Linked DNA regions of Homo sapiens: regions 1, 2, 4, 5 and 6 are each linked to region 3. Evidence: promoter capture Hi-C in 16 types of primary human blood cells and fetal thymus (Javierre and others, 2016). All regions are on one chromosome and are shown on one strand. Each heading gives the region's core, a stretch centred on a gene start or on the middle of the fragment in contact. The rest is flanking DNA. Distances are from core to core; before and after follow the strand shown.

Region 1 (4,874 bases), core at 422-2,921, 340 kb before region 3:
GTATGCAATATGTTTTCTTGTTCAGGCGTGAGGGCCGGGCCCTGAGGTCCGAGATTAGGTAACGGAGAGGGCAGACTCGGATCCAGACCCCGCAGCTGAAGCAGAGCTCGATGGTACCTACTCACAGCATCTCGGTACTTCCCTTCCCGGTAGCGCTGGTTCCCTTCCTCCTTGTACAGCTGAGCCTCCTGCAGACGCTTCTCCATAACTGTCGCCCACGGTTCTTGCGGAACTGGGAAGTGAAGGAGCAAGTGAAGCTCTGGGGTTGGGAGCAAAATAACTGACAGTAGCAGCCAATTTAAGGAGGCAGGAAATTACCCTTCTTCCTGGAGAGTCCCCCCACAGGGACCTGCGGTTTGCTTGTTTCTACTGAAAGCCCCACCTCTCCTTTCTGCAGTCTTTTTCTCAAGAAGTGCAGGCAAGTAGTAAGGAAAGGGATGTGGGAATAATGAAGCCCAACATTAAGTGACTTCCTAAAGAGGCGATGTGGGGGTGGATGAGACTTTCCGAAGAACTCAAGCAAGGCCCTACTCAGGAATTGTTGCGGGCGTGAGAACGCCTGGGACACTGGCTTCCGCCTTTCTATTGGACCCGCCCCCCCCCGACCTGGAAGTAGAAGGGAGTGGGCGGGACTAGTGCTAAAACTCCAGAGGGCTTCAAGCAATTCTAACTCTTCTTCCTTATTCAACATTTATTTGTTGACGTCAATAAATAAACTGGGAAGCCGAGGTGAACCACCAGCGACACTGAGGTGTCCACATAAGCGTCACAGCTGCAAGCCCACCCGGCGCCGTGACCAGTTCCTCGCCCTCTGCAGATGCCCAAACCTGGAAGTCTCCTGGGCTTCGGTTTACCAGCAGGAGCAAGGAGAGGAAAGGGTCAGAGATGCGTACAGTTTGGTATCTTGAGGGTCGCGCGCATTGCGCCACACCACCCAATCAGAAGAGGCTCCGGAAAAATAATCCCGCAGAAACGACCCCGCCTCCTCAGCGGACCAACCTGGGAAAAAAAAAAAAAAAAAATTCCCCTGGCAGCTTCGCCAATTGGAAAAATCCGGACGATCACGGATGACCAATCGGAACGGCAAATGACGATTCAAGTTGTCCAATAAGAGAAAAAGGGCGGGTTCAAGGGCCTCTGTTGCTGGGTAGAAGTTGAGGCGTTGAGGAAAAAGGAGGGCCCGGATTACAGTATTTCTTCGTTCTGGGGAGCCCTTTTGCTTCCTAGCCAGAAAAACAATTGCTACTAGGCTTACATGTTGCAACACATTCTCTAATGACTTTTTTTTTGTCGTTACTGCTGCAAGCACAGACAGTAGGGAAAAGAGGCTAGCGACCCCTAAAACGCCACAGCAAATGGAAGTCAGACGGAAGTAAGGGTGGTGGGAGGGGCATGGCATCGGGGAGCTCCGGGCGGCTGCGCAGAACTCCCCGGCTGGAAGTACTGAAAGACCGGCGCGCACACGCTTCCGTGCTACGAGGCACTTGAGCTGCAGCCAGCCTTGCCCGTCTTGGACTCCACTGCGGCTGCGCGATAAAAGCACCGGCGGCGATTGGCCCGGGGGCGCCAGAGGGCGGGAGGAAGCGGGAGGAACTCCGTCGTCCTCCGCGCGCGCCTGCCCGCGGCTGGGGAACCAAGGGCCTGGAGGGGAAACAGCTCCCTGCTGCGTTGTTTTGGGCTCCGTGAGCCGAAAGGGGGAGGGGAGACGAAGGAGAAGCAAACACTGCGCAGCGGGACCGTGCGCGGCCTCCGCTCCTGCGTGCGTGCGCTCGCTCGCGCGGGCTCAGTGCTGGCGCGTGAGGCGGAGGCGGGCGGCGGCGGCGGCGCCTGCGCGGTCGGACTCGGTCGACGGTTCGCAGGGGAGGAGGCGGCGGGAGGCGGAGGAGGCGGCGGCGGCGATGGAGGTGAAGCGGCTGAAAGTGACCGAGCTGCGGTCGGAGCTGCAGCGGCGGGGCCTGGACTCGCGCGGCCTCAAGGTGGATCTGGCGCAGCGGCTGCAGGAGGCGCTGGACGCCGAGATGCTCGAGGACGAGGCCGGCGGCGGCGGGGCCGGGCCCGGCGGGGCCTGCAAGGCGGAGCCTCGGCCTGTGGCCGCGTCGGGCGGCGGCCCGGGCGGGGACGAGGAGGAGGACGAAGAGGAGGAGGAGGAGGACGAGGAGGCGCTGCTTGAGGACGAGGACGAGGAGCCACCCCCTGCTCAAGCCTTGGGTCAGGCCGCGCAGCCGCCGCCGGAGCCCCCGGAGGCGGCAGCCATGGAGGCCGCGGCCGAGCCAGATGCTTCCGAGAAGCCGGCGGAGGCCACGGCCGGGTCAGGCGGGGTAAATGGTGGCGAAGAGCAGGGCCTCGGCAAGAGGGAGGAAGACGAACCCGAGGAGCGGAGCGGGGACGAGACGCCGGGATCCGAGGTGCCGGGTGACAAGGCCGCCGAGGAACAGGGTGAGGAGCTGGCAGCCGAGCCCGGCTCCAACCTGCCGGCTGCGCCCCTGATCTAGCACCCCGCCCTGCACCGCAGGGTCCGAGTCCTTGTTCTCGCTTGCCTCAAAGTGCCATTTGATGGAACTCCTTTCATTCTCTACCCACCTTTCTGAGGGGTTAGGCCGCCTCTCGTGGCCCTACTCTTTGCAGGAGGAAGGTTCCTGCCTAACTTGGTTCCTTGGTGATAGTGGATGGCAGTGAGTGATTTTGCATGCGAACTACTTGTGAGCTACCTGTGGAACAGTCTCCCACGGTGCTTGTTATATTTTTCTTAGCTGAGAAAGTGCTAAGCAATTGGGGATTACACGGAGAACTAGGCCCACAGTTAGAGGGTCAGGTCTTTGGGCTACCTGACCTAACTTTTTCGCCGTAAAAATGTTAAGCAAAAATCGAAGTCCGTCAAAGTCCGTTCCATTAAAAGCATGTTACCAGAGCTTGAGCCACAGAGAATCTGAAAATCCAACCTTGCTCCTCTTTGAGCTGTAAGGGAGAGCCTCTAGTGTAACAGTGTCGAGTTTAATAGTTAACCAGTGAAGAGAAAAATCTTAATCTAGTTCATTTAGAGTTAGTTAACGTTACTTGGCTAGGGTTTTTATCTTGCTTGGATTATGATTAAATTTTAATTGTCCCACTGAGTCCGTGGATAGGCATATTTGTAGATTTGCTGAACACCTGGTGCTAGTCTTTTACGTTTCAGGTCCCTCGGTTCCTGAATGGTAATGACTGAGGTGCTGTTGGGTCCGTTGAGTAACCTTGTGGAAGAGGTGTGTTGTAGAATCGCCCCAGGGAGTTAGTGACCTTTCTCCTTTCTTTTGAAGTGATTGGATGGTTAGAACTGATCCATAACAGTGTGTGTCCGAGTAGGGAGGATAAGTCTTACTATAAAGTGGGTGGCCTCAGTTCTTTTGTTAGTAATATTTTTAGGCCACTATGGAGAGTCATGGTATAATCGGAACCCATTGTACAACAATCACATGCAACTTGCAGATTGTTTGTCCTGTGTCCCGGAGCAAAAATCCCATTACATAACCTTTGACTTATGTATATCCCAAAGAGCAGATAAAAAAATAATTGAAGGATAGGCTGGGGGTGGTGGCTCACGCCTGTAATCCTGGCACTTTGGGAGGCCAGGCGGGTGGATCACCTGAGGTCAGGAGTTTGAGACCAGCCTGGTCAACATGGTGAAACCCCTGTCTCTAGTAAAAATACAAAATATTAGCCGGGCGTGATGGCGGGTGCCGGTAATCCCAGCTTCTTGGGAGGCTGAGGCGGGAGAATGGCTTGAACCCGGGAGGCGGAGGTTGCGGTGAGCTGAGATCGCGCCACTACACTCCAGCCTGGGCGACAGAACGAGACTCTGTCTCAAAAAAATATATATTGAAGGATAAAAGACTGCTTTAAAGAAATTATTATTAAAAACCTTCCTAGTGTTGCAAAATACAGAAGCCTAGGGAAAAACTCCAAGTTTTTTCCTCTTGCAGAGAAGTTGCTAAATATACAACAACACCTTTCTGCCCCAAATGTGCAGTCTAGATGCGGTATTATTTATGGATCTCTTGTGACTTAGTGGTTTGCTCTTGCAACTTTCAGTAGAAGTCCCTGATAAAAATACAGCTGTGTATAATGCACTTGAGTCCATTTGCCACATGAATAAAGCCATGGATGGCTGTGTATTTCAGTGCAGGAAAGGGAAATAAAAGAAATTGAGGCTTCTCTGTATCATGAAGGTGTGGAAAAGTGTTACAAAATATGTACTAACTGCCTACCTTAAATCTAGATCTGACAAGAGTCAAAATTAAATTAACCTTTGAGGTTTTCTTAGAGACCTAGAGGATATTTTTTATGTCATATTGATGGGGAAATCTGCAAGTTTGACCTGATTTAAGTGGATAAATTTAGAATGCAAAAATTGTCCAATTTTTATCTAGTGCTTGACTGTAATTAGCCCATAATGCCCCTTTTTAAAAAAATTAAATCACAGCCAATGACAGAAAGCTGATCTTTAGAAATAAAATGTTATGTGAATGTAGTGGGAATAACCTGGCTGTTTTGATCAGACAGATTCTCAGATTCCCTGTTAGTGTCTATTAGTTGTGAGCTTATTCTACACTCCAGTATGAAAACTGCTGATTTTCTTTCCCTCGTTTTTGTAGGAGATGACCAGGATAGTGAAAAGTCAAAACCAGCAGGCTCAGATGGTGAGCGGCGGGGGGTAAAGAGACAGCGGGATGAGAAGGATGAACATGGCCGAGCTTACTATGAATTCCGAGAGGAGGCTTACCACAGCCGGTGAGGGAAACAGTCCCTTTCGTTGAAGGGAGTGTCTGCTCTGATTTTGGTATACCTGGTATTGACTGGAGAGACTGGAAGGAGGGTGGATTCAAAATGGAATAGGTTTT
Region 2 (4,702 bases), core at 904-3,403, 420 kb before region 3:
TGAGGCCGCCCATTCAGAGATCCTCAAGTACTTCCAGTCTGTCACCTCCAACCGGTGGCTCATGGTCAAAATCTTCCTCATCCTCATTGTCTTCTTCATCATCTTTGTGGTCTTCCTTGCTTGAACCCTCTCTACTCTGAGGCACTCTGTTGGGGTTTGGGACCCTCCTGGGAAGGCAAGTGGCCAGTGCTGCCACTGAGCCTGTGCAGGGTACTTGGGAGAAAGGCCCTGTTTCCCTGGAACTGCTAAGAATGACCACTGCCCCTGATCCCCCACCCCTTGCCTCTGGCCACCCTGTCCTCCCCCCACCACCCTCAGGCCTATGAAACACACAGGGTTCTAGATTTGAACTCTGCTGTGAAGTGACTGGAAGGGAGCAGAGGCCAGCTGGGGGCCAGTGGGGGAGGTTGTTTCCACTAGGAGATTTTTATAAACCCTCTCCAGCCTCTCCCAAAGGAAGCGTTGGCAGCAAAGGGAGATGATGCCCTTACCCACCTTCCTGTGAGTGAAGAGAGGAAGCAGCCCCAGGGACCAATTTTCCCAATTGACCTCTTTCTTCCTCTTTCACCATGTGAGGCAGGGAGCCCTGAGCCCTTCAGCTGCCTGCACAACCCCTGACATTGGCTGCTGGTGACTCAATCTGCCAAATGTGCTGCAGCTCGTTTTCTCCCAATTACAGCAAGACTGTCAGCCTCACTAGCCATGTCATCATTTCTGGGTGGGAGCGTCGAAGGGCCTAGGCAGCGAGTGGAGAGAGCCCACTGCCCAGTACCAGAACTGAAAGGGTTGGGCTAATGGCTCTGCCAGGTATCACTGCTGACACAGGCTATTTTGGGCTCTGACACACAGCTGCCTCTAGGCAGGGGAGAACCAAGTGTTGCAACACTTCATTAGCGTGGAAACTTCCTTTCACACAGGGGAGCAGGATCCCAGAGGGGGTCCCTGATTGGGGGCAACTTCCAGGACTATCTCAAGCAGTGTTTGGACCTGTTTCATCTGTATCCTCCAACTATTTGGCCGTAATTCTTCCTTGAGCTAAGCGAGGCAGAAGCTCTGCCTGCTTCCAGGAGTGGAAGGTGAAGAATTTGTTCCCAACTCCAGTTGAGGCTTTTGATTCCCTCCAAGCACTTCACCAAATCAAAGCCAGTCACAGAGAATGGAGACACCTGCCCAGAATACCCACCGTCCAGGGAGATTAGTGTGCTTTGTTCTTCCTGACCGAGACTCACAACCACATTCTGAGGTCACTCGAGTGCCCCTGTCTCATACATTCCAAAGGAAGTTGAAGCTATAGAGACAACAGTCAGGGGCTGGTGGTGGTGCTTTTGGGGGTCTAGGAGAGCCCAAGGCCCTGATATTTTAAAATGTCCTCCTCGGCATCTCCAGCAAGTTGCCACTGCTGGTGAGCTTCACTGTCTGCCCCGTTGACACGATGGGTTTCTAGTAGGGGACGCCATTGATGGAAGGTCTGTGAAGACAATGCTCGCCAAACCCCTGACAGATGTCGTATCATTTGACTCAGCAACTCAGGGCGGGGCGGGGTGGGGGAAATTCATAACACAAATTCATTTATTTCACAAATATATGTTGAGTTTTTACCATGTGCCAGGCATAGTACCTGCCGAGTCAAGCCCTCGAGGAAAAAAAGCCCTTAATTAGTCAACGTTCGAGCTCACATTCTAATTCTCAACTTCGTGATTTGTTAATCCATCTTATAGGCGAAGAAAGCGAGGTATAGACAAGGAGCCGAGCTGAAACACTGGCTAGATTCCGGTAGGGGTCTGAGCCATCACTCCCACCTGGAGGCGCGGTCTCCATTCCTCTGAAGCCCTTTGTGCGGCCCCCTTCCTCACTGAGTTCTGGGCTGCGGCGGCAGCACTGTGCTCTAGCACTAACTCTGAAGCTGCCAGGGCAGCGTCAGCGGACAGATGAAAAGGTGCGGGGACATGCTGGCTGCCAGCCGGGGTTCCGCAAGTTCAGGTCTTGGGCGGGGCGTGGAGGGCCAGGCCCCGCCCCTCGAACGACGGCCTTAAGTGTGCGCACGCGCAGGGGGCCGCGCTTTCTCCGGGCGGCGGCACCGCCCACAGCCTGGGACGTCAGCGGCGCGCGACGTGCTTTGCTGTATAAATGCGGTGGCGCCCGGCGTAGGGACACTTCGGTCCTGAGCGCTTGGGAGTTAGGTTGTTTGCCGGCGTAGCGGCCAGCGCCTGAGCCCGCCCTTGATCTTCGCTGTGGCATGGCGGACGAGGGGAAGTCGTACAGCGGTAAGTGCTGGTCTTCGGGTCGGGAACTGGCTATCTGGGGCGCGGGTGGGCGGCGCCGGCCTAGGCCTCAGCCCCCGGGGCGTGAGGCCGCTAGGGGCCCGGCGTCCGCGGGGAGCGGCGCGCGGGGGGCCGGGCACTCGAGGTGGACACCCGAGTTGTTGACTCCTGGATTCCTGCTGGCATCCTGGTGTTGGGGGACCTGCGGCTCGGAGCGGATGGCTCGGGGGTAGGGTGACGGGATTCCTTTGAACTTTGTGGGTGGTTGATGCCTGTCAGTTAGGTTTGGCGGCCTGACTCTTCCTTTAATGTGAGTGAGTGCCCTGCTCGTGGGCTGCCCTGATGCCCTATTTTTTACTGCGTCCAGTCGGTCTTGAACTCTCGGGCCTGGGCTTTGGCTTAATATTCGAGACTTACACATCAACTGGATATTCTAGTCTGAACACTACACTGGGTGTTAGTTCTTTGTAGTAAGTTAGGAGTGCGTGGTGGAGGTTGAAACCGTGAATTTAAAACTCTCGTTTTCCACCCCCTTAATGTGGAATAACAACAGCATTTCTTAAGAGTGTGTGTGGGGAGGGGAAATGAGATCATTCCTATCAAGTGCCTGAAGCATAGTGGCCGGCACTGGAGAAAGTTCTCAGTGAATGTTAGCTGCGCCTTCTATGTTCTTTTTTCCTAGGGTCATTTGTTGAGATTCATTGTTTACAGAGTGCTGGGTATTAGGCAGACCTCTTTTGGGAGTTAGGGACCTTTTTTAAGACGCCAGTCCTACACAGCATGAATCAGAAGGTCATCTTCCTGGAGAGCATTCCAGGGTCCCTGGTTAAGCACCCTAGCCTGGCACTGCCACTAGAGCCTGAGTCTAGAATTTGTCTCCTGAGTTAAAGGACATTTCTGGCCATGGAAACGAAGAGCTCCTCACAAAACTTCAAAGTGGCAGTTTGAGAACAAGGAGAATTTTTAGAGGATCCTTAAACTGGTCATATTTGTAACTGGCGTCTGCACTGTATAGACAAAGTACTGAGTGGCAGATTTCAGGTGGCTTTCAGAGGTCTGATTTGTGTTCAGTTACACTTTTGGGTCTCACATTTCTACATCCTGCTTCTCTCTAATTCCAGTTTCTACTTCATTTTTCAAAAGCCCTACACAGTTTTCCAGTAACTTTTCCCTGATGCTGCCCTCCCACAGAGAGGGTTCTTTCCTGTGGATAGGGAGCGGAGTTTGCATGGAGATGGCCTCTGTCGTTAGTATGTATCTCTTCCAATAGTTCAGAGTACTAGAAGCTATGATTGCCACACCAAACCGGACCAGTTACTTACTTCTAATTTGTGTTCCTGTTTCTAACTCTAGAACACGATGATGAACGCGTTAATTTCCCTCAAAGAAAGAAGAAAGGCCGGGGTCCCTTCCGGTGGAAATATGGTGAAGGAAACCGTAGGTCTGGAAGAGGCGGTTCTGGTATTCGGTCTTCCCGCCTTGAGGAAGATGATGGAGATGTGGCAATGAGTGATGCCCAGGATGGTCCCCGAGTACGATAGTGAGTGACCAGTTGGTCTGGTTTGAATTTAGTGGCTCATGAGATTATATGGCCCTTTTACTGTCCATGTCATTTCCTTTCCCACCTGTTAGAGTGAGAAATGCCAGGACTAGCTTAGTGATTAAACAGTCTTAGTTGTAGTCCCACTAACAGTGCAGGAAGGCCTTTGAGAAGACTTTCCTAGCATTTGTGGTCATTTTATTCTCTGCTTACCCACAGCAACCCCTATACCACCCGACCTAACCGTCGGGGTGATACTTGGCATGATCGAGATCGCATTCATGTTACTGTGCGGAGAGACAGAGCTCCTCCAGAGAGAGGAGGGGCTGGCACCAGCCAGGATGGGACCTCAAAGAACTGGTTCAAGATTACAGTGAGTACTTTGAGAAAGTAGATGGTACAGTAGAGATAGGAGGCCACGCTGAGAGTGGAGATGTTTAATTTTATTCCACAAAAATTATTATTATTATTTTTTTTAAATGGAGTCTTGCTCTGTCACCCAGGCTGGAGTACAGTGGCGTGATCTCGGCTCACTGCAGCCTCCGCCTCCCGGGTTCAAGCTATTCTGCCTCAGTCTCCCGAGTAGCTGGGACTACAGACACCCACCACCACGCCCGGCTAATTTTTGTATTTTTAGTAGAGACGGGGTTTCACTGTATTGGCCAGGCTGGTCTCGAACTCCTGACGTCATGATCTGCCCGCCTTGGCCCCCCAAAGTGCTGGGATTATAGGCATGAGCCACCGCACCCAGCCCAAAAATTCTCCTTGTCATCTGATTACTCCACACTCAAGTATCTATCTTTTCTCCTAGGAATCAGTATCTTCCAACACCTTAGAGCAGGTTCAGAGAAGGGGTGGAAGAGAAATATGAAAATTTTGGTTGGGGGAGGGAGTAATTCCT
Region 3 (4,368 bases), core at 15-2,514:
CCTTCTATGCACTTATCTTCACAAATTATTTTACTTGTCCTGTGGTCTGTGTACCTTGTTCTATGTGGAACAGGGTGAGTCTAGCCAGGTTCACCTTCAGGATGCTTTCCCCATGCCCTGTGGTTGAGACGGCTCCGATGTCATTGTCGGCATAACCTCCAGCTCCTGCTCAAAAAGGGTGATTGTTCTGAGCAGTAACAGTCAAGAAATTCAAATCCATATTAGAAGTCGGACGCTACATGAAAGTTAAATCGCGAAGGGTGCTCAAGTACCGACAAAGGTCAGGTTAGTAGCCATGATCTGCGGAGGCAAAGGTGGACTAGAAAGCGTCATGTAGATGCCCCAGAATTTAGGAGGATAAAGGGAGCCTCAGAGGGGCAGGCCTGACCTTTCACAGAGCAGCTACAGCAGGACAGCATCTCCTTGGCCCCAAAGCACAGCCATTCCTTTTTGCTCAATGAAGCCACCCTCTCCCTGTCTCCTCCTCATGCCCCACACACTATGGAGGAAGAAACAGCATGACTGCATTATATGGATCTCTAGCAAGGCCATCATGTTCCAGTGATTTGGGGAAAATGATACCCACAACCTAACATCCATGCACACTGTCTAATGGAGGGCAGTTATATTTGTTGAGGGTGGGCATAATTGGACCTGAGGGAACTATTCTGGGCTATCCACTTAAGTGGGGGTCTGGAGTGAAAGCTACTTTGATAAGATTTCTTCCTTATTTTGGGCTTGGATTAAGCAACCTTACAGCCTTCTCTGAGTCATTCTTGTATCTGTTCACACACAGCTACCAGCCTCAGAGTCCTTTAGCCTTGGAAGGATTCGCCTTTACCCTCCCACAGTTGATACAGAAGCACAGAAGATTGACATTTGCCTTACTTATTGATGCTGGACATGGGGCAAGGACTCAGGAGTTGAGATGCTGCATTGGATTGTCACAAGGCCCCAGAGGTTCTCAAAGGCAGATAATCCCTGGCTCTGGTTCTGGAGGGAGCTGACACTGGACAGCCAATGAACTGCTGCAGTGGGAGGAGGCGCCTTTACTTTTTCTTATAAGCTTCTGCTGGGGAATTAACTGACCGGGTTCCATGGTGTCAAAGTGCCCTAATATTTGGAAGCAGCCAAGTCTTTGCTTACTTTTCAGTTACTCTAGGACCACAGAAGGCCAGGTGTCTCCAAGGGTGGTCCTGGCACAGGCATCGGGCGTGTGAAGCTGTCCTCCCCGCCACATGCACTTCTCAGGACAAGTGCATTGCCTGAGGTGACCACTGCTGAGCCTAGTACCGTCCCCCATGACTGTCCAGGCAGGGGCCTGGCCAGTGGCAGTGCTCCTTGGGGAGGCTCCTCAGAAGGCCAGGCAGAGCACACCTGGTGCTCACAGCTGGACAGAGAGTTCTGAGAATTTAGCTTATGCCTTTTCTTGTCAAGATTTACCACTGTAACTCAAGCTTAAAATTAATTTCTAGGATCTAACCTGGAGTGGCCCTGTGGCCTGGTCTGAACGCAGCTGAAGCAAGCTGCACTACTGACCAGGCACAGTTTGGTGGGATTTTTGCCAAGGAGAAAGAAAGGTAGACTACTTCACATCTCTTGGGTGATATACCAAGGAGAAGAGGAGTTACCAAGCCTCTACTCTTTTTAAGGAAGCTTCCAGTGTCTCTGAGTTCATGACAGAAAAAGGGTATCAAGAATTGTCGAGAGTGTAGATTATTACTAAAGACTAGAGCAACACATTAAAAAGGGAAGGTAGGGCTAGTTTTCCTCTAAAAGAATAAGCTGCTCTTTAGGGCAGATGGAACAATTTAGCTGCTTCTCAAAACTTCAGTCACCTGTGGGGGTTCATGAGGATTCCTGCATGACAAGTGTGAAAGTCTGCACGGAGTGAAACATACAGCCCCCCAGCCCTGCCTCTCACCCACTCCTGGGAATGAGATGGCGTGCTTCCCCGTTAATGTAAACAACATCTCAATCTATAATGTGTCTGTAGAAGTATGTCACTTTCATGCTGCTCAGATCTAACAACTGCAGTCTCAGATTTCTCAGATTGCTAATCAGAGCCCATGTCTCGGGAGTAAGTCTTACTCAAGTAAGTCTGCAGATCCTGAAACTGTGGCTAAAGAGAAGACAGAATCACGACAGGGTAGACTGGGGGCAACGTTAGCATCCCTGTCTCCACTTCTCTCCCCAAGTTGTTCCAAAAAGGCATGCAATCTAGTAAAAACAGTGGCGCCAGATACAAACACCCTCTCAAGGCAGCACCCCGAACAACCCCTTCCAACCCCATTGTCACTCCCAGACATCCTGGAGCTGCACCAAAAGCAGAAAGGGAACGCAGCAAGAAACGGAGAGGGGCAGGGAATAGAGAGTGAGGAAAGCCTGAGGGCGGGAGAAGAGGGGAAGGGGCAGGAGGCATCCCTTGGTCCTACCTAGACACGGTGAGTCCCCAACGCGGCCGACCATTTTATTAACGATACCGCCTGTGGAGGTTGCGTAGGCTACATTCCCTTTGCAGTCCAAGGCAACAGCACCCACGGTTCCCAAGTTTCTGCCAAAAATAAACAGAAAAAAAGTGACAGGCTGAAAATGAGAATGAACACCATAACCAACAATGTACCTTAAAACCACTTAAAGTTTCATGTTATATGTTGATGGGGCACCCATTTAATTCCAACATTCTAGAAAGAACCTGCTGCTTCTCATTCTACGTGTAAGTTACAGGTGGATTGCTGGACACTCCTCCACACCTCAGCTTTAAGAGTACATCCAATCCCAACACCACCGTTTTCTAGCTGTGATGCTAAGTTTTATTTTGTGTCTCTTTGTCCCCATCATAAAATGGGGATAAAAGTAAGAGTGCTTCTCAAACTTTAGTGTGTATAAGAATTCCTGGGGTGCTTGGGCCCACAGAGACTCTGAAGCTGCCACCAAGAGGAGAAAGGAAAGGAAAAAGTGACTTGGTAGATACAGGCTGGGACCCAAAATCCTGCTTTTTTTTTTTTTTTTTTTTTGAGATGAAGTCTCACTTTGTCGCCCAGGCTGCAGTGCAGTGGCACAATCTTGGCTCACGGCAACCTCTGCCTCCCGGGTTCAAGTGATTCTCCTGCCTCAGCCTCCCAAGTAGCTGGGACTACAGGCATGCACCACCACACCTGGGTAATTTTTATATTTTTAGTAGAGACAGGGTTTCATCATCATCTTGGCCAGGCTGGTCTCAAACCTCTGAGCTCAGGTGATACGCCTGCCTTGGACTCCCAAAGTGCTGGGGTTACAGGCGTGAGCCACTGTGCCTGGCTGATCCTGCGTTTCTGACAACCTCCCGGGTGTCGCTGATGCTGCCTGCCTATGGACCCTGTGCATGGGGTTGTCGTAAAGATCAAATCCGTTAATTTTCCCCTAACATTTTATTATGAATTCTCGAATACAGTCATGTGCCACCTATGATGTTTTGATCAACAGACTGCATATAGGATGGTGGTCCCATGAGATTATAATCCTCTATTTTTACTGTACTTCTATGTTTAGATACACAAGTACTTACCATTGTGTGACAACTGCCTAGAGGATTCAGGACAGTCACATGCTGCACAGGTGTGTAGCGTAGCAGCAACAGGCCGGACCACATAGCCTAGATGTGTATTAGTCTCTCCTATCTGGGTTTGTGTGAGTGCACCCCTATGATGTTTGCATGGCCATGAAATTGCCCAACTATGCATTTCTCAGGATGCATTTCTTGTCCTGTCATGAGACGCGTGACTGTAACACAGTTGAACAAATTGTACACGAACACCCCAGCATACCCACCAGCAAGGTTCTATAATGAATTATATTTGAGGCATTGTTTTAAGTGCTGGGACACAGTGGTAAAGCTAAACAAAGTCCTTTCTCCCATGGAGCCTGCATTTGGGGTAGAGGGTGGTAGTAACAGGGCAATAATATGTCAGGTGACAAAAACAAAACAAAAAAACAAAAAACCCAAACAAAAAAACAAAGAAGCACCAGGGAAGAGTGATGGTGGGGAGGTGCTGTTTTACACAGAGTGTCTCTGCAGGACAGAGGGGCAATCATGCCATCCCAGCTGCTGGGGAGGAGCGTTCCTGATGCACAAACATGCCTGCCATGTGCATGGAATTTGAAGGAGGCCAGTGTGGCTGGAGAGAATAAAATGAGGGAGAGCGTGGTAGGAGAATGATCAGAGGGACAGCCAAGTCCAGATCACGATATCTCTTGACAAGTGGGGTGACCATACACACTAGTTACCCAGGCCAGTTCAAATGTATGCCTGCTGTCATGGCTTAATTATTAATAGTACCACTTTTACTCTCAAAATTAAGTTTCAGTTTAAACACTAAAGAATATAAT
Region 4 (4,603 bases), core at 2,087-4,586, 280 kb before region 3:
TCCTCTTCATCTTCCTCTTCCACCTTTTTCCAGGCAACTTTAGCAGGACCCTTTGCATCATCAAACCAACCTTTCTACTTATAGTCAGGAACATCCTTCTTATACTTTTCCTTCAGCTTTGCTACCTTAGTGATGTCATTTAAGTTATTTCACATCTCACCCAGAAAACCTAGCTTCTTAATAGAATAGGAATAGTGCCTATTTCTTGGGATTGTCATGAGGGTTACATAATGCTGGTATAAGATGCTTTAGCATAGTGCCTGGTACCTAATAAGTCCCCAGTAAGCATTAGCTACTAAAAGGATAATTTTATTTACTTATTTGAGGTGGAGTCTTGCTCTAGATCCCAGGCTGTAGTACAGTGGTGCAATCTCGGCTCATTATAACCAACGTCTGCCGGGTTCAAGCAATTCTGCCTCAGCCTCTCGAGTAGCTGGGATTGCAGGTGTGTGCCACCACACCCAGCTAATTCTTTGTATTTTTTAGTAGAGATGGGGTTTCACCATGTTGGCCAGGCTGGTCTTGAACTCCTGACCTCAAGATCCACCTGTCTCAGCCTCCCAAAATGCTGGGCTAAAAGGGTTTTGTTTTTTTGTTTTTTTTTTTTGAGACATCTCCTCACTCTGTTACCCAGGCTGGAGTGCAGTGGCACGATCTCGGCTCACCGTAACCTCTGCCTCCTGAGTTCAAGCGATTCTCCTGCCTCAGCCTCCCGAGTAGCTGGGACCACAGGCACGTGCCGCCATGCCCAGCTAATTTTTGTATTTTTAGTAGATACAGGGTCTCACCATGTTGGCGCTTCTCTCTGCTTTTTAAAACCAACCAAGAAGCACTGATGAGCTTATCTATGATAGTCCCTCTGGCTGCTGATCACCCCACCCTGCTGTCCTGTCAAACTGCTCCTGACTCCACTCCTTCCTGGACTAGGAGAAAGGCCACAGTTACTCTGTAAAGATCACATGTAACATGTGTTCCAGCAGCTGAAAAGAGCACCAATACTTATATCTGGGTTTACACCCCAGTGTTAGAAAGCTTTATTTGGGCCAGGCACGGCGGGTCATGCTTGTAATCCCAGCACTTTGGGAGGTTGAGGCGGGCAGATCACCTGAGGTCAGGAGTTCAAGACCAGCCTGGCCAACATGGTGAAACCCTGTATCTACTAAAAATACAAAGATTATCCTGGCATAGTGGCGCACCCCTGTAGTCCCAGCTACTGGAGAGGCTGAGGCAGGAGAATCGCTTGAACCCAGGAGGCGGAGGTTGCATTGAGTTGAGATCGCTCCATTGCACTCCAGCGTGGGCAACAACACAGAAATTCTGTCTCAAAAAAAAAAAAAAAGCTTTATTTGGTGTTCTGACTTTAATAACAGCAGCCTTTTTTTCAATTGCAGTCTTGCTTGGGAACCACAGGATAGACAAAAGAGGAGCAACTTGGTTGACTAGGCTGTGGGGCTTTGACCCCACTTATTTAATCCCCTCAGTGGCAGCTCCAATAAATCCTGACCAGATCCAGAGATTGGGGACCACTTTACATTTCTAAATTAATGTTTTACAATAATCCTCGTAGTTATGACCTTTCATAGAACAGGGCTGAGGTTTGTAACATGCTGGAGTTCAACCAGGATCTGTGACTCAAAGCACACTCCTTTTACTACTAGTAAGTCAGCCTCCTAAGCTTGTTTAACCAGAGGTTAAATAATGGCCACAGAAAGCATTGTGGCATATGTTAAGTGCTAGATGCCCCTCCAATCTCGCTCCAAGGACAGGAGTCCTGAGTGTCCACTATAGGCATCCATTACTTCAAGACTTCCCAGGATAGTTCAGATTTCAAGAATGTCCCACGGTTATCCCTGGAAGTACACTCCAACCTGACACCACATGACCTGTTTTGAAAATGTGGTTGGCCGGGCGCAGTGGCTCACGCCTCTAATCCCAGCACTTTGGGAGGCTGAGACGGGTGAACTGCCTGAGGTCAGGAGTTCGAGATCAGCCTGGCCACATGGTGAAACCCGCCTCTACTAAAACTACTAATATCAGCCGGGCGTGGTTGCGGACGCCTGTAATCCCAGCTACATGGGAGGCTGAGTAAGGAGAACAGCTTGAACCCAGGAGGCAGAGGTTGCAGTGAGCCAAGATTGCGCCACTGCACTCCTGCCTGGGTGACAAGAGCAAGACTCCATCTCAAAAAAAAGAAAAAATGTGGCCGCGGCAGGGCGAGGTGGTTCACGCCTGTAATCCCAGCCCTTTGGGAGGCCGAGGCGGGCGGATCACCTGGGTCTGGAGTTCGAGACCAGTCTAGCCAACATGGTGAACCCTGTCTCAACTAAAAACACAAAAGTTAGCTGGGCTTGGTGGCGCGCACTTGTGATCCCGGCTACTCGGGAAGCTGAGGCAGGAGAATTGCTGGAACCCAGGGGCGGAGGTTGCAGTGAGCCGAGATCGTGCCACTGCACTCCAGCCTGGGTGACATTGACTCCGTCTCAAAAAAAAAAAAAAAAAAAAAATGTGGTCAGATACCTATCGGGATCAGCCTCTTCTGGTGGGGTGGGACAGGCAGCAGCTCCAGGCCGCGCCCCCAGCACCGACCACGCGTCTCTAAGCATTGGTAGGTGTCGACTGCAGGGCTCATTCTGGGTGGAGGAACATGATTTTATTGGTTCTTTCAGTTCACCACATCCGACTCGCGTCTCGGCCCTGGCCCGCCTTGCGGACCTTAAAGCAGTCAGTCCAGGGTTTGGGGGAAACGTGCTCACCCGACGGCAGCTCACAGGACCCCGGAGAGTCCTGGCATGGTATCTCGGTCCGGACTCTCCGCTGGGCCCACGAAGGAGAAAGGCTGCCTCGGATTCCTGCGCCCAAGCCAAGGTCCGGCGCCCACGGAGGCAAGTCCGGTCTCACGGTGACCTCCCGCCGGCGCCGCCTTCGCCGCCAACCATCCAGTTCTTCCTCCAGGCCACGTTCTCCTGCGTGGTCGCTGCCTCCTGCAGAGTGGCCAGCAATAGCTGCTGGGTCCTGGCCGCCTCCTCCCTGCTCCTTGGGTCCTGCAGTGGCATCTCCTGAGGGCAGGAAGGGGAGTTCGCAGGAGCTCCAGTCCGGGGCTCTCCACCCGCCCACCCTTCCTCGGGACTACCAGTTGCTTCTACCTTTAGCATTTCCTGCTTCCGCCGCTCTCCCGGGGTCACGATAACGAGGAGCGCGTAGCCCACGCCAGCCCCTGCGCCCAGCATTGCGACTGAGATCAGCATTTTCCGCAAGGAATCCATGGCCGCCTGCACAGCCAGCGGAGCGCCCACGGGAGCTCCCCGCAGCCGCAAGCTGTTGCCGCGCGGTCTCACTACCCCTTGGCGCAGGCTAGAGCGCCCTATAGCAGAAACCATAGATAAGCGGCCGGCTAGAGAGGACCTGCTCGAGGAAACGTTTGGAATCCGGAGCGCTTGGATCTCAGGTTTAGCTGAGGGGGTTGAGGTGTCCAAGAAGTGCTGGCACCAAGGGCTGAGCGCGGGGACCCTGTGTCCTCAATTCCGGGGTGGGATTGCTAGGGGGAGAGTGCGTGTCTTCATGGTTGCCGTGGGTTTTATGATTGCCCATTTTTCTGTCTTCCGACGTTTCCCGATCAGTAGAGGCCCGAGCTGTGCTCTGTGGTTTCCTGCAGTCACCCGCGCGTTTTCAACACAGCGCATGGAGGGCATCTACACACATACACATCCCTCTCCATCCCCTCAACTCTGGAACAAACACTCAAAGTCAAGTATACTGGTTGGAGAAATGGGTAATAGTTACTTATCTTTAACATTTATTTTACAAACAACCTATTCCTTTTCTCGTCATGGTACACACTTGGTATTGTTTGGGTTTTTTTTTGGTTTTGTTGTTGTTGTTAGTGTGTGGGCGTGGTTTTGTTTGTTTTTGGAGACAAGGTCTCGCTCTGTCGCCCAGGGCTGGAGTGCAGTGGCGCGATCATGGCTCACTGAAGCCTCGACTTCCAGGGCCCAAGCGATCCTCCTGCCTCAACCTCCCGGATAGCTGGGATTACAGGCGTGCACCACCACGCCCGGCTGGTATTGCTTTTTGTTTTGCTTCGTTTTCTTTTTTGCTTTTTGAGACAGAGTCTCACTCTGTTGCCCAGCTGGAGTGCAGTGGCGTGATCTCGGCTCACTGCAAGCTCTGCCTCCCGGGTTCACGCCATTCTCCTGCCTCAGCCTCCCGAGTAGCTGGGACTACAGGCGCCCGCCACCACGGCCGGCTAATTTTTTGTATTTTTAGTAGAGAAAGAGTTTCACTATGTAGGTCAGGCTGGTCTCGAACTCCTGACCTCGTGATCCGCCCAATCCGCCCACCTCGGCCTCCCAAAGTGCTGGGATTACAGGTGTGAGCCACCGCGCCCGGCTGTTTTGCTTTGTTTTCAACCACTAAAAGGCTGGATTCGTGTAACATACTGAATTCTGCTTTACAGAAGAAAACACCTCTTAGCTGTGTGACTGATTATAGGCAAGTTCTTGTGCCCCGGTTTCTGCATCAGAAAATGAAGCTTATAACAACAGTACTTGTCTCACAGTTTTAGGATAATTAAATTAGTTATATGTAAAGCAATTAAAACAGCTCC
Region 5 (4,369 bases), core at 1,861-4,360, 380 kb before region 3:
CTCCTCTGGCAGGGGATCAATGGGTCACCAGTGACGTCCAGGTCCCTACATCCAATGGACAGCTATGTGGCTTCTGTGCAGCACTCCTCCCAATGGCTCCCCATTGTCTTTGAAATAAAGAACAAATTTGGGCCGGGCGCGGTGGCTCACGCCTGTAATCCCAGCACTTTGGGAGGCCGAGGCAGGCGGATCACAAGGTCAGGAGATCCAGACCATCCTGGTTAACACGGTGAAACCCCATCTCTACTAAAAATACAAAAAATTAGCTGGGCTTGGTGGCGGGCGCCTGTAGTCCCAGCTACTCGGGAGGCTGAGGCAGGAGAATGGCGTGAACCCAGGAGGCGGAGATTGCAGTGAGCCGAGATCACGCCACTGCACTCCAGCCTGGGCAACAGAGCAAGACTCCGTCTCAAAAAAAAAAAGAAATAAAGAACAAATCTGAACAATGGCTCTGGAGGCTCTGCATGTACTGCCTACTTCTGCAATACCTCTTACCTCTTATCTCCTACTTTCTTGTGTTCTGTATTCCCACCTGTGTCCTCCTTTCAGTTCCTCAAATACACCTATTTTAGGACCTTTGAACACTGCTTCCTCCACTTGGAACTCTCTCCTCCCTGTCCTCCACCCCCAATCCCTTTGTCTAGTGAACTGCTACTCACTCCTTCAGATTTCAGTTCAAATGTCACTTGCTCAGGGATGTCTTCCTAGATCCTCCAATGTCCTTGCATTCTGCCTCCAAACCAGTCGTAAGAATTTGTAGCTGGACCCAGTGGCTCACGCCTCTAATCCCAGCACTTTCGGAGGCCAAGGCGGGCGAATCACCTGAGGTCAGGAGTTCAAGACCAGCCTGACCAACATAGAAAAACCCCCATCTCTACTACAAATACAAAATTAGCCAGGTGTGGTGGCACATGCCTGTAATCCCAGCTACTCGCAAGGCTGAGGCAGGAGAATCGCTTGAACCCGTGAGACAGAGGTTGCAGTGAGTCAAGATCGCACCAGTGCACTCCATTCTGGGTAACAAGGGGAAAACTCCGTCTCAAAAAAAAAAAAAAAATTGTAGGCCGGGCGCAGTGGCTCATCTGTAATCCCAGCACTTTGGGAAGCCAAGGCGGGTGGATCACAAGGTCAGGAGTTCTAGACCAGCCTGGACAATATGGTGAAACCTCGTCTCTACTAAAAATACAAAAATTAGCTAGGCATGGTGGTCCGCGCCTGTAGTCCCAGCTACTCCGGAGGCTGAGGCAGGAGAATTGCTTGAACCCGGGAGGTGGAGGTTGTAGTGAGCCAAGATCGCACCACTGCACTCCAGCCTGGGCGACAGAGCAAGACTCCATCTCAAAAAAAAAAAAATTTGTAATTATAGGCCAGGCATGGTGGCTCACGCCTGTAATCCCAGCACTTTGGGAGGCCGAAGCTGGTGGATCACGAGGTCAGGAGATGAAGACCATCCTGGCTAACACGGTGAAACCCTGTCTCTACTAAAAATACAAAAAATTACCCAGGAGGCTGAGGCAGGAGAATCACTTGAACCCAGGAGGCAGAGGCTGCAGTGAGCCGAGATTGCACCACTGCACTCCAGCCTGGATGACAGAGCTAAACTCAGTCTCAAAAAAAACACAAAACAAAAAACAAAAACAAACAAAAAAAAAAGATCTTCTAAAAGAAAGAAAGAAGAACTATTCTTTTTTTTTTTTTTTGGAGATGATGTCTGATGTCTCACTCTGTCACCCAGGCTGGAGTGCAGTGGCTTGATCTCGGCTCACTAAAACCTCCGCTTCCCGAGTAGCTGGGATTACAGGCCTGTGCCGCCACACCTGGCTAATTTTTGTATTTTTAGTAGGGATGGAGTTTCGCCATGGTAGCCAAGCTGGTCTGGAACTCCTGACCTCAGGTGATCCGCCCACCTCGGCCTCCAAAGTGCTGAAATTACAGGCGTGAGAGCCACCGCACCTGGCCCGACGAGCTTTTTTTTTTTTTTTGGAGACACAGTCTCGCTCTGTCACCCAGGCTGGAGTACAGTGGCGTGATCTCGGCTCACTACAACCTCTGCCTCCCTGGTTCAAGCAATTCTCCTGCCTCAGCCTCCCGAGTAGCTAGGACTACAGGCATACGCCGCCATGCCCAGCTAATTTTTTGTATTTTTAGTAGAGACGAGGTTTCACCGTGTTGCCCAGGCTGGCCTCGAACTCCTGAGCTCAGGCAATCCAGGTGCCTCGGCCTCCCAAAGTGCTAGGATTACAGGCGTGAGCCACCGCGCCCGGCCACGAATAGCACTGTACTATGCCTGAGACACAGCTAAGTGCTTTATATGGATTACTTCACTATATTCTCAATAATAAGATATTATTATGTATTTCGTCTATTTCACAGGCAAGGAAATCAAACCTCAGAGGCTAAATGTTCCATGACTTCTCCAAGATCATGAAGTAAGCACTGAGTAAGTAGGGAGGGGGAGCAAGGACTCAACCCCTTGCTCCTAATCTTTACTCTATACCGCATTCAGGAGCCGCCAGCTGTATGGGGAACAAGGCCTGGATCCCACCCCAAAGACATGGATTGGAGACCCACCCCTTGGTGACCCTAGACCCGCCAATAGATCGTTGTGAAGCTGCAGTTTCCCTATCTGTAAAATGGGAGCATTTAGTCCACCAGCGCGAAAGGCACGGAGGGAGTTTCCCTATTATATGACCGTACACGAAATCTAGACTGTGACCAAAGTCTCCCGCTCCTCAGCCTCCTCTCCTCCGCATCCTCAGCCACTAGTCACGCTGGAGAGGAGGCGTGGGAACTGACCTCCGCGGGCCGGGCCTCGGCAACGCGCATCCTCCCACCCGGCCTAGCCCAGCCCAGATCGGGGAGGGGGTGCGCGGGGGGAGGAGGTCAGGGGTCACTGAACTTGGGTCACGTGGTCAGCCAAGGGGGCGGGCCCTCGCGGTGCGGGCTCCAAGACTGGTGAGTAAGCAGTCGGCGTCGGGAATGGGGAGTCCTTGGACCAGAGCAAGGCCTGCTCACCTGAAGACCCCGGCGTGGCGAAGGCTGCTACCGAGACGACGGCGGCGGGGGCGGTGGCGGCGGCGCCCACTCACGAGCTCACACTCATTCCCTCTCCCGGGGCCCCGGCCCCGCCCTCCCCAATACAGCCAGTCGGCGGGCGCCTTGGAAAGTTTCCGGCCCTCCAGGAGGCTTCCTGGCTCTTGATTGGCCAGTGTGAACAGACTGTAGAGACCGGCGGTCACGTGACGCTGAAGATTCCCGCTTCTTAAAGCAACCTCTCTTGCTACGTTTGCGAGTAGGTGTGTATTGTTTTAACACACGTTTAATAAGCATATTTTATTTTTTTTACCACCACAATAGTAACGAGGAAATAAACAGTCTCAAAGACAGCGTCTTGATTTTCTTTGTCTTGTTTGCTCGCGAGTTTCTGAGCACCCGCATTTTCGCGACTGCAGCAAAGCTTTAGATTTTGGTGTCTGGCTTAGTTTTCCTGCCCGGCCTACCTCCCCAACATCACATGCCACTTCCCCTTCCTGAAGGGATAGATGGGGCTCTCGGTAGGTGTTCTCGGCAGGCAGAAGGGACTTCTGACCCGGCCGAACATCCCGTGCAAGCTCCGGACTCCAGGGTTCTGCTCTTTCTGCACCTACTTCGCATTCTCCCCACGCCTGTGAACCAAATACAAGCCCTGGCCTACCTCGCCTTGCATGACCGTTGGACACGCACACTGACAGCTCTCTTTCTCCAACTCCCACTGCAATAGCAGCTACTTGGGCAGTTCTTAATTGATAAGCAGTGGGCTTAGTGAGTAAAGGATGGTATTTGGAATCAGACCGACCTGGGTTAAAATTCTGACACTGCCTTTGGGCAAATTACCTAATATGGAGTAATAATGCGCACTTCACAGGGTTGTTGTAAATTAATGTCTGTGAGAGTCCCTGGCAGAGTTGGAGGTTAAACTTCTTTCCCGGCCGGGCGCGGTGGCTCACGCCTGTAATCCCAACATTTTGAGAGGCCGAGGCGGGGGATCACCTGGGGTCGGGAGTTCAAGACCAGCCTGATCAACATGGAGAAAAATCCATCTCAACTAAAAATACAAAATTAGCCGGGTGTGTTGGCACATGCCTGTAATCGCAGCTACTCGGGAGGCTGAGGCAGGAGAATTGCTTGAACCCGGGAGGCGGAGGTTGTGGTGAGCCGAGATCGCGCCACTGCACTCCAACCTGGCCAACAAGAGTGAATCTCCGTCTCAAAAAAAAAAGAGAGAAACTTTCTTTCCCTCACATGTCACAAGGCATACAGTGAATTCCTTTAAGTTCACCCAAGATGGGGTAGTTTGCACTGAGTGAACTGTGGGAACATTCTGCAAGGG
Region 6 (4,991 bases), core at 431-2,930, 260 kb before region 3:
GGCGCACTTTGGGGAATCTGCCTCAGCCCATCTGTCTGACCTGGCTCCTCTCCTGCTACATCCTGAGGAGGAAGTAGCTGAAGCTGCTGCCTCTCTCCTGGCCATTTGTCCCTTTCCTTCTGAAGCCTTATCCCCCTCCCAGCTCCTGGGACTGGTAAGGGCTGGGGTGCACCGCTTCTTTGCCTCTCTGAGGCTGCATGGACCCCCAGGTGTGGCCTCAGCCTGTCAGCTTCTCACCCGCCTGTCTCAGACATCCCCAGCTGGGCTCAAGGCTGTCCTGCAGCTGCTGGTTGAAGGAGCCTTACATCGAGGCAACACAGAACTGTTTGGTGGGCAAGTAGATGGGGACAATGAGACTCTCTCAGTTGTTTCAGCTTCTTTGGCTTCTGCCTCCCTGTTGGACACTAACCGGAGGCACACTGCAGCTGTGCCAGGTCCTGGAGGGATTTGGTCAGTTTTCCATGCTGGAGTCATCGGCCGTGGCTTAAAGCCACCCAAGTTTGTCCAGTCACGAAATCAGCAGGAAGTGATCTATAACACCCAGAGCCTCCTCAGCCTCCTGGTTCACTGCTGCAGTGCCCCAGGGGGCACTGAATGTGGGGAATGCTGGGGGGCACCCATCTTGAGTCCAGAGGCAGCCAAAGCAGTGGCAGTGACCTTGGTGGAGAGTGTGTGTCCCGATGCAGCTGGTGCAGAGCTGGCCTGGCCCCCCGAGGAACACGCCCGGGCCACCGTGGAGCGGGATCTCCGCATTGGCCGGCGCTTCCGCGAACAGCCCCTGCTCTTTGAGCTGTTAAAGCTGGTAGCAGCTGCACCCCCAGCCCTGTGCTACTGTTCCGTGCTGCTTCGGGGGCTGCTGGCCGCCCTCTTGGGCCATTGGGAAGCCTCTCGCCACCCTGACACGACCCACTCCCCCTGGCACCTGGAGGCATCCTGCACCTTAGTGGCTGTCATGGCTGAGGGAAGCCTCCTGCCTCCGGCCCTGGGTAATATGCATGAAGTATTTAGCCAACTGGCACCTTTCGAGGTGCGTCTGCTGCTGCTCAGTGTCTGGGGTTTTCTCCGGGAGCATGGGCCCTTGCCTCAGAAGTTCATCTTCCAATCAGAGCGGGGTCGCTTCATTCGGGACTTCTCCAGGGAGGGTGGAGGTGAGGGTGGACCCCATCTGGCTGTGCTGCACAGTGTCCTCCACCGCAACATCGACCGCCTAGGTCTTTTCTCTGGCCGTTTCCAGGCACCTTCACCGTCCACTCTCCTTCGACAGGGGACGTAGCCTTTTCTTGCTCTGGAAGCCCAGGGAGGTTGAGCAGTGAGAGAGGGAAGGGACTAACGTGCTCCGGAAGGGTGGAGGTTTCTCTTCTAAGTCCTTGGTCTAAAGAGCGCTGTCACTTTTTTCTCTCCCACTTTTTTTTTTCTAAATAAAATTTGCCAACTTGAGAAAACCAGTCCAGTGCTTCTGTCATGCTGAGAGCGTGCAAAGTCTGACAGCGCCTGGCTCTGGACGTTCCCGCCCCTGGCCTGAAGCCCCGCCCCCTGCGATAATTTGGAGTGCGCACTCTACCAATGAGACAGCTGCCCGGCGGCGCTCAGGTCGAACCAATCATAAGGCCGGAAGGGGCGGGAACTAGGATACGTGGCTGAGCGCGCGCGATGGGGCGGGAGGTTTGGGGTCAAGGAGCAAACTCTGCACAAGATGGCGGCGGTAGCGGCAGTGGCGGCGCGTAGGAGGCGGTGAGGAGCCCGGAATCTGGGGGCGCGCCCGGGACGCCCCCAGATCCCCCAAGTCCCATTCCACTCCTTCCTGTGTGTCTCTTGACACTCTGCCACCCCCGGCCTCGTGAGGAACCTTTGTTCCTCTGGAGGCGGCCTCAGACGCCTCCGGTCTCCCCGTGGTAGATCCGAGCGACGCTGGGGGCCTTGCCTGTGGGGCTCCGGGCTCCCGCCCGGCGGTTTAGTAAAGCCACAGCTGTGCGTCTTTCTTGGTCTTGGCCGCTCTCAGCCGCCGCCCTCCTTTGGCTGCTTGCGGCGGTCAACGTCGCCGCCCCCTTCCTGCAGTGCGCGGGGTCGTCGGGGCGGGGGAAAAGATGCGGCCTGGCCTCGGGGAATGCAGCCTGCGGCCCCGCGGCCCCTCGGCTGAGCTGGAAGCACCGGGCCAGCAGTTAAGCCTGTACTACCCTTCTGGCTCTACCCTGTAGAGCTCCGAATCCTCCTCTGCCCTTGTCTTCACGTGAGCACCAGCTCTGGCTTAGTTCAGTGTCCACGGTCGCTGGGCACGGCCCAGGGTCCAGTAAGCTCACGGCGTGGATGGTGTTGCTCAAACACAACATGTAATCGAATGGCTTGGTCCACGCTCTCGGGTTTATATTACTGGGGAAAAAAAAAGATTCGAAACATATCACCAGTGCCACAAATGTTTACTAGGACCTAACGGATATACTGGGGTGGGGTAGGCGTGTACTCTCCAAAGCGATGAAGAAAGCGTGGATCATAAACTCAGTTCCCTCGGAGCCTGTGATCTGAAACAATAAATGCGTGCAACTTGCCCTGCAGCTTATTCCTGACTTTGGCCTATGAACACCTCTCTTGGGGTGGTCAAGGCCGCCGTGAATTCCTTAGGGCCCTCCAACAGGTCATATCTGAAAGATGCTTTAGGAATCCTATCTCCATTGGCATCTTTCCGAACCAATTTTACAGACTGTGCAAATAGGGCCCCAGAGGGTATTTAACTCACTGTACGTCTTTTTTTTTTTTTTTTGAGAGACAGAGTCTCGCTCTGTTGCCCAGGCTGGAGTGCAGTGGCGAGATCTCGGCTCACTGCAAGCTCCGCCTCCTGGGTTCACGCCATTCTCCTGCCTCAGCCTCCCGAGTAGCTGGGACTACAGGCACCCGCCACCACGCCTGGCTATTTTTTTGTATTTTTAGTAGAGACGGGGTTTCACTATGTTGGTGAGGATGATCTCGATCTCTTGACCTCGTGATCCACCCGCCTCGGCCTCCCAAAGTGCTGGGATTACAGGCGTGAGCCACCGCGCCCGGCCTCAACTCACTGTACTTCTATTTACTGCTGCTTTTGGCAGGTGGACGTGGGTCAGTGGCCAAGAGTGCCTGTTGCAGTCACTCAGGTCACTCACTGCAGGACCTGTGCCGCATGCCTTGCTATGGAGTTTTGTGGTAGCATTTATTCTGCTTGGCCTATTAAACCACAGTGCCTAGTGTTTTCTTCATTTTTCTGTCTGGCCTGCTGTGGAACAGTTGTTTCGTACATTCCTCTGGAGCTGGAGGAGAGTCCTGTGATGAGATCATAGTACACTCTGTGATCTCATTTCTGGTAATTTTCTTTTAGCTTTCAAGCAGATGCTGAAGCTAATGCTAGATAACTAGATACAATGTGTATAATAGACCCTGTCTTTAGTTACCTTATTATAGGTTGTCAAATTTTATTTATTTATTTATTTGTTTGTTTACTTATTGAAACAGGGTCTCGCTCTGTTGCCTAGGATGGAGTGCAGGGGTGCAATCTCGGCTTACTCCAGCTTCCACCTCCCGAGTTCAAGCGATTCTCCTGCCTCATCCTCCCGAGTCCTGGGATTACAGACGTGTGCCACCGTGCCCAGCTAATTTTTGTATTTTTAGTAGACACCCCATTGACCAGTCTTAATTAATTTACTTTTTTGAGACAGAGTCTTGTGCTGTGGCCCAGGCTGGAGAGCAGTGGTGCAATCGTAGCTCATGCAGCCTCAAACTCTTGCGTTCAGGCAGTCCTCCGGCTTCAGCCTCCTGATTAGCTGGGACTACAGGCACCTGCCACCATGCCTTGCTACTCTTTTTTTTTTTTAAGTAGAGACGAGGTCTTGCTGTGTTGCCCAATCTTCCCTTTTTGACCTCCCAAAGTGCTAGGATTATAGACGTGAGCCACTGTGCCTGGCTGGTTGTAAAACTTTATTGCTTAGAAGAACCCTCCCACCCCCAGTTTGAAACACTTTCTCAGAGTATGCTCGTATTCTGCCCATATCAGTGTCACTGGGAGAGCATGTTTAAAATGTGGTGTCAGCCGGGCACGATGGCTCACACCTGTAATCCCAGCACTTTGGGAGGCCGAGGCTGGCGAATCACCTGAGGTTGGGAGTTCGAGACCAGCCTGACCAACACAGAGAAACCCCGTCTCTACTAAAAATACAAAATTAGCCGAGTGTGGTGGCACGCGCCTGTAATCCCAGCTACTTGGGAGGCAGAGGCAGGAGAATTGCTTGAACCCGCGAGGCAGAGGTTGCGGTGAGCCAAGATCGTGCCATTGCACTCCAGCATGGGCAACAAGAGTGAAACTCAGTTTCAAAAAAAATTAAAAATAAAATGCGGTATCCAGGGTGGGTGCAGTGGCTCACGCCTGTAATTCCAGCATTTTGGAAGGCCAAGGTGGAAAGATGGCTTTAGCCTAGAAGTTCAAGACAAGCCTGGGCAACTTTTTTTTCTTGTTTTTGAGACAGAGTCACACTTTGTCACCCAGGCTAGAGTGCAGTGGTGCGATCTCAGCTCACTGCAACCTCTGACTCCCAGGCTCAAACCATTCTCGTTCCTCAGCCTCCCCAGTAGCTGGGATTATAGGCATGTGCCACTACGCCTGGCTAATTTTTGTATATATCTATTTTTTTCTAGGTGGTGTTTCGCTGTGTCGCCCAGGCTGGAATGCAGTGGCACAACCTTGGCTCACTGCAACCTCTGCCTCCCGGGTTCAAGCAATTTTCCTGCCTCAGCCTCCTGAGTAGCTGGGACTGCAGGCGTGTGCCACCATGCCCTGTTAATTTTTTTTTTGTATTTTTAGTAGAGACGGGGTTTCATCATGTTGGCCAGGCTGGCCTCAAACTCCTGACCTCAGGTGATCCACCCGCCTCAGCTTCACAAAGAGCTGGGATTACAGGTGTGAGCCACCACGCCCGGCCTAATTTTTGTATTTTTAGTAGAGATGGAGTTTCGCCATGTTGGCCAGGCTGGTC

What was found. Contacts are between HindIII fragments. The CHiCAGO score rates a contact against its expected background, and 5 or more counts as called.
Region 1: a contact is called between the fragment with the promoter of HNRNPUL2-BSCL2 here and a fragment that was not itself captured in region 3, in 2 of 17 cell types (monocytes and M0 macrophages). The highest score is 5.8, in monocytes.
Region 2: a contact is called between the fragment with the promoter of NXF1 here and a fragment that was not itself captured in region 3, in 1 of 17 cell types (total B cells). The highest score is 5.4, in total B cells.
Region 4: the fragment with the promoter of UQCC3 here is called in contact with a fragment that was not itself captured in region 3 in 12 of 17 cell types (endothelial precursors, activated CD4 T cells, erythroblasts and 9 more); the score reaches 8.5 in endothelial precursors.
Region 5: a contact is called between the fragment with the promoter of TAF6L here and a fragment that was not itself captured in region 3, in 6 of 17 cell types (naive B cells, monocytes, total B cells and 3 more). The highest score is 9.3, in naive B cells.
Region 6: a contact is called between the fragment with the promoter of GANAB here and a fragment that was not itself captured in region 3, in 6 of 17 cell types (endothelial precursors, total B cells, M2 macrophages and 3 more). The highest score is 8.1, in endothelial precursors.

Annotation. Positions count from the first base shown.
Region 1 is chr11:62,724,181-62,729,054 of GRCh38, reverse strand. It overlaps HNRNPUL2-BSCL2 (HNRNPUL2-BSCL2 readthrough (NMD candidate)), which reads left to right and starts at 1,671. Exons shown (of 24, transcript NR_037946.1): 1 at 1,671-2,436; 2 at 4,629-4,764. It overlaps HNRNPUL2 (heterogeneous nuclear ribonucleoprotein U like 2), which reads left to right and starts at 1,598. Exons shown (of 14, transcript NM_001079559.3): 1 at 1,598-2,436; 2 at 4,629-4,764. The coding sequence starts at 1,899. It overlaps TTC9C (tetratricopeptide repeat domain 9C), which reads right to left and starts at 569. Exons shown (of 3, transcript NM_173810.4): 1 at 1-569. The coding sequence starts at 206. RefSeq lists enhancers at 188-297, 688-887, 1,138-1,187 and silencers at 1,448-1,607, 1,778-2,157. The HindIII fragment of the contact is 17,995 bases long and covers 1-4,874 here.
Region 2 is chr11:62,802,891-62,807,592 of GRCh38, reverse strand. It overlaps NXF1 (nuclear RNA export factor 1), which reads left to right and starts at 2,153. Exons shown (of 21, transcript NM_006362.5): 1 at 2,153-2,264; 2 at 3,615-3,801; 3 at 4,021-4,174. The coding sequence starts at 2,237. STX5 (syntaxin 5) reads left to right here. Exons shown (of 11, transcript NM_003164.5): 11 at 1-733. The coding sequence ends at 124. RefSeq lists enhancers at 1,635-1,684, 1,705-1,894, 1,861-2,360. The HindIII fragment of the contact is 11,555 bases long and covers 1-4,702 here.
Region 3 is chr11:62,387,319-62,391,686 of GRCh38, reverse strand. It overlaps ASRGL1 (asparaginase and isoaspartyl peptidase 1), which reads right to left. Exons shown (of 7, transcript NM_001083926.2): 5 at 2,436-2,554; 6 at 55-165. Among named protein-coding and RNA genes, the nearest start is that of SCGB1A1, 30 kb to the left of the region's middle. The HindIII fragment of the contact is 391 bases long and covers 1,069-1,459 here.
Region 4 is chr11:62,670,406-62,675,008 of GRCh38, reverse strand. UQCC3 (ubiquinol-cytochrome c reductase complex assembly factor 3) reads right to left here and starts at 3,336. Exons shown (of 2, transcript NM_001085372.3): 1 at 3,144-3,336; 2 at 1,323-3,056. The coding sequence starts at 3,263. The coding sequence ends at 2,895. It overlaps LBHD1 (LBH domain containing 1), which reads left to right and starts at 2,742. Exons shown (of 7, transcript NM_024099.5): 1 at 2,742-3,445. RefSeq lists a silencer at 2,533-2,662 and enhancers at 2,903-3,062, 2,429-3,170, 3,171-3,910, 3,911-4,603. The HindIII fragment of the contact is 2,853 bases long and covers 1,678-4,530 here.
Region 5 is chr11:62,770,137-62,774,505 of GRCh38, reverse strand. TAF6L (TATA-box binding protein associated factor 6 like) reads right to left here and starts at 3,110. Exons shown (of 11, transcript NM_006473.4): 1 at 3,016-3,110. It also overlaps a transcript of TMEM223 not described here. RefSeq lists an enhancer at 2,521-2,660 and a silencer at 2,851-3,260. The HindIII fragment of the contact is 6,431 bases long and covers 1-3,459 here.
Region 6 is chr11:62,643,302-62,648,292 of GRCh38, reverse strand. It overlaps GANAB (glucosidase II alpha subunit), which reads left to right and starts at 1,680. Exons shown (of 24, transcript NM_198334.3): 1 at 1,680-1,731. The coding sequence starts at 1,694. INTS5 (integrator complex subunit 5) reads left to right here. Exons shown (of 2, transcript NM_030628.2): 2 at 1-1,445. The coding sequence ends at 1,273. RefSeq lists a silencer at 1,509-1,588 and enhancers at 2,199-2,358, 2,674-3,481. The HindIII fragment of the contact is 15,573 bases long and covers 1-4,991 here.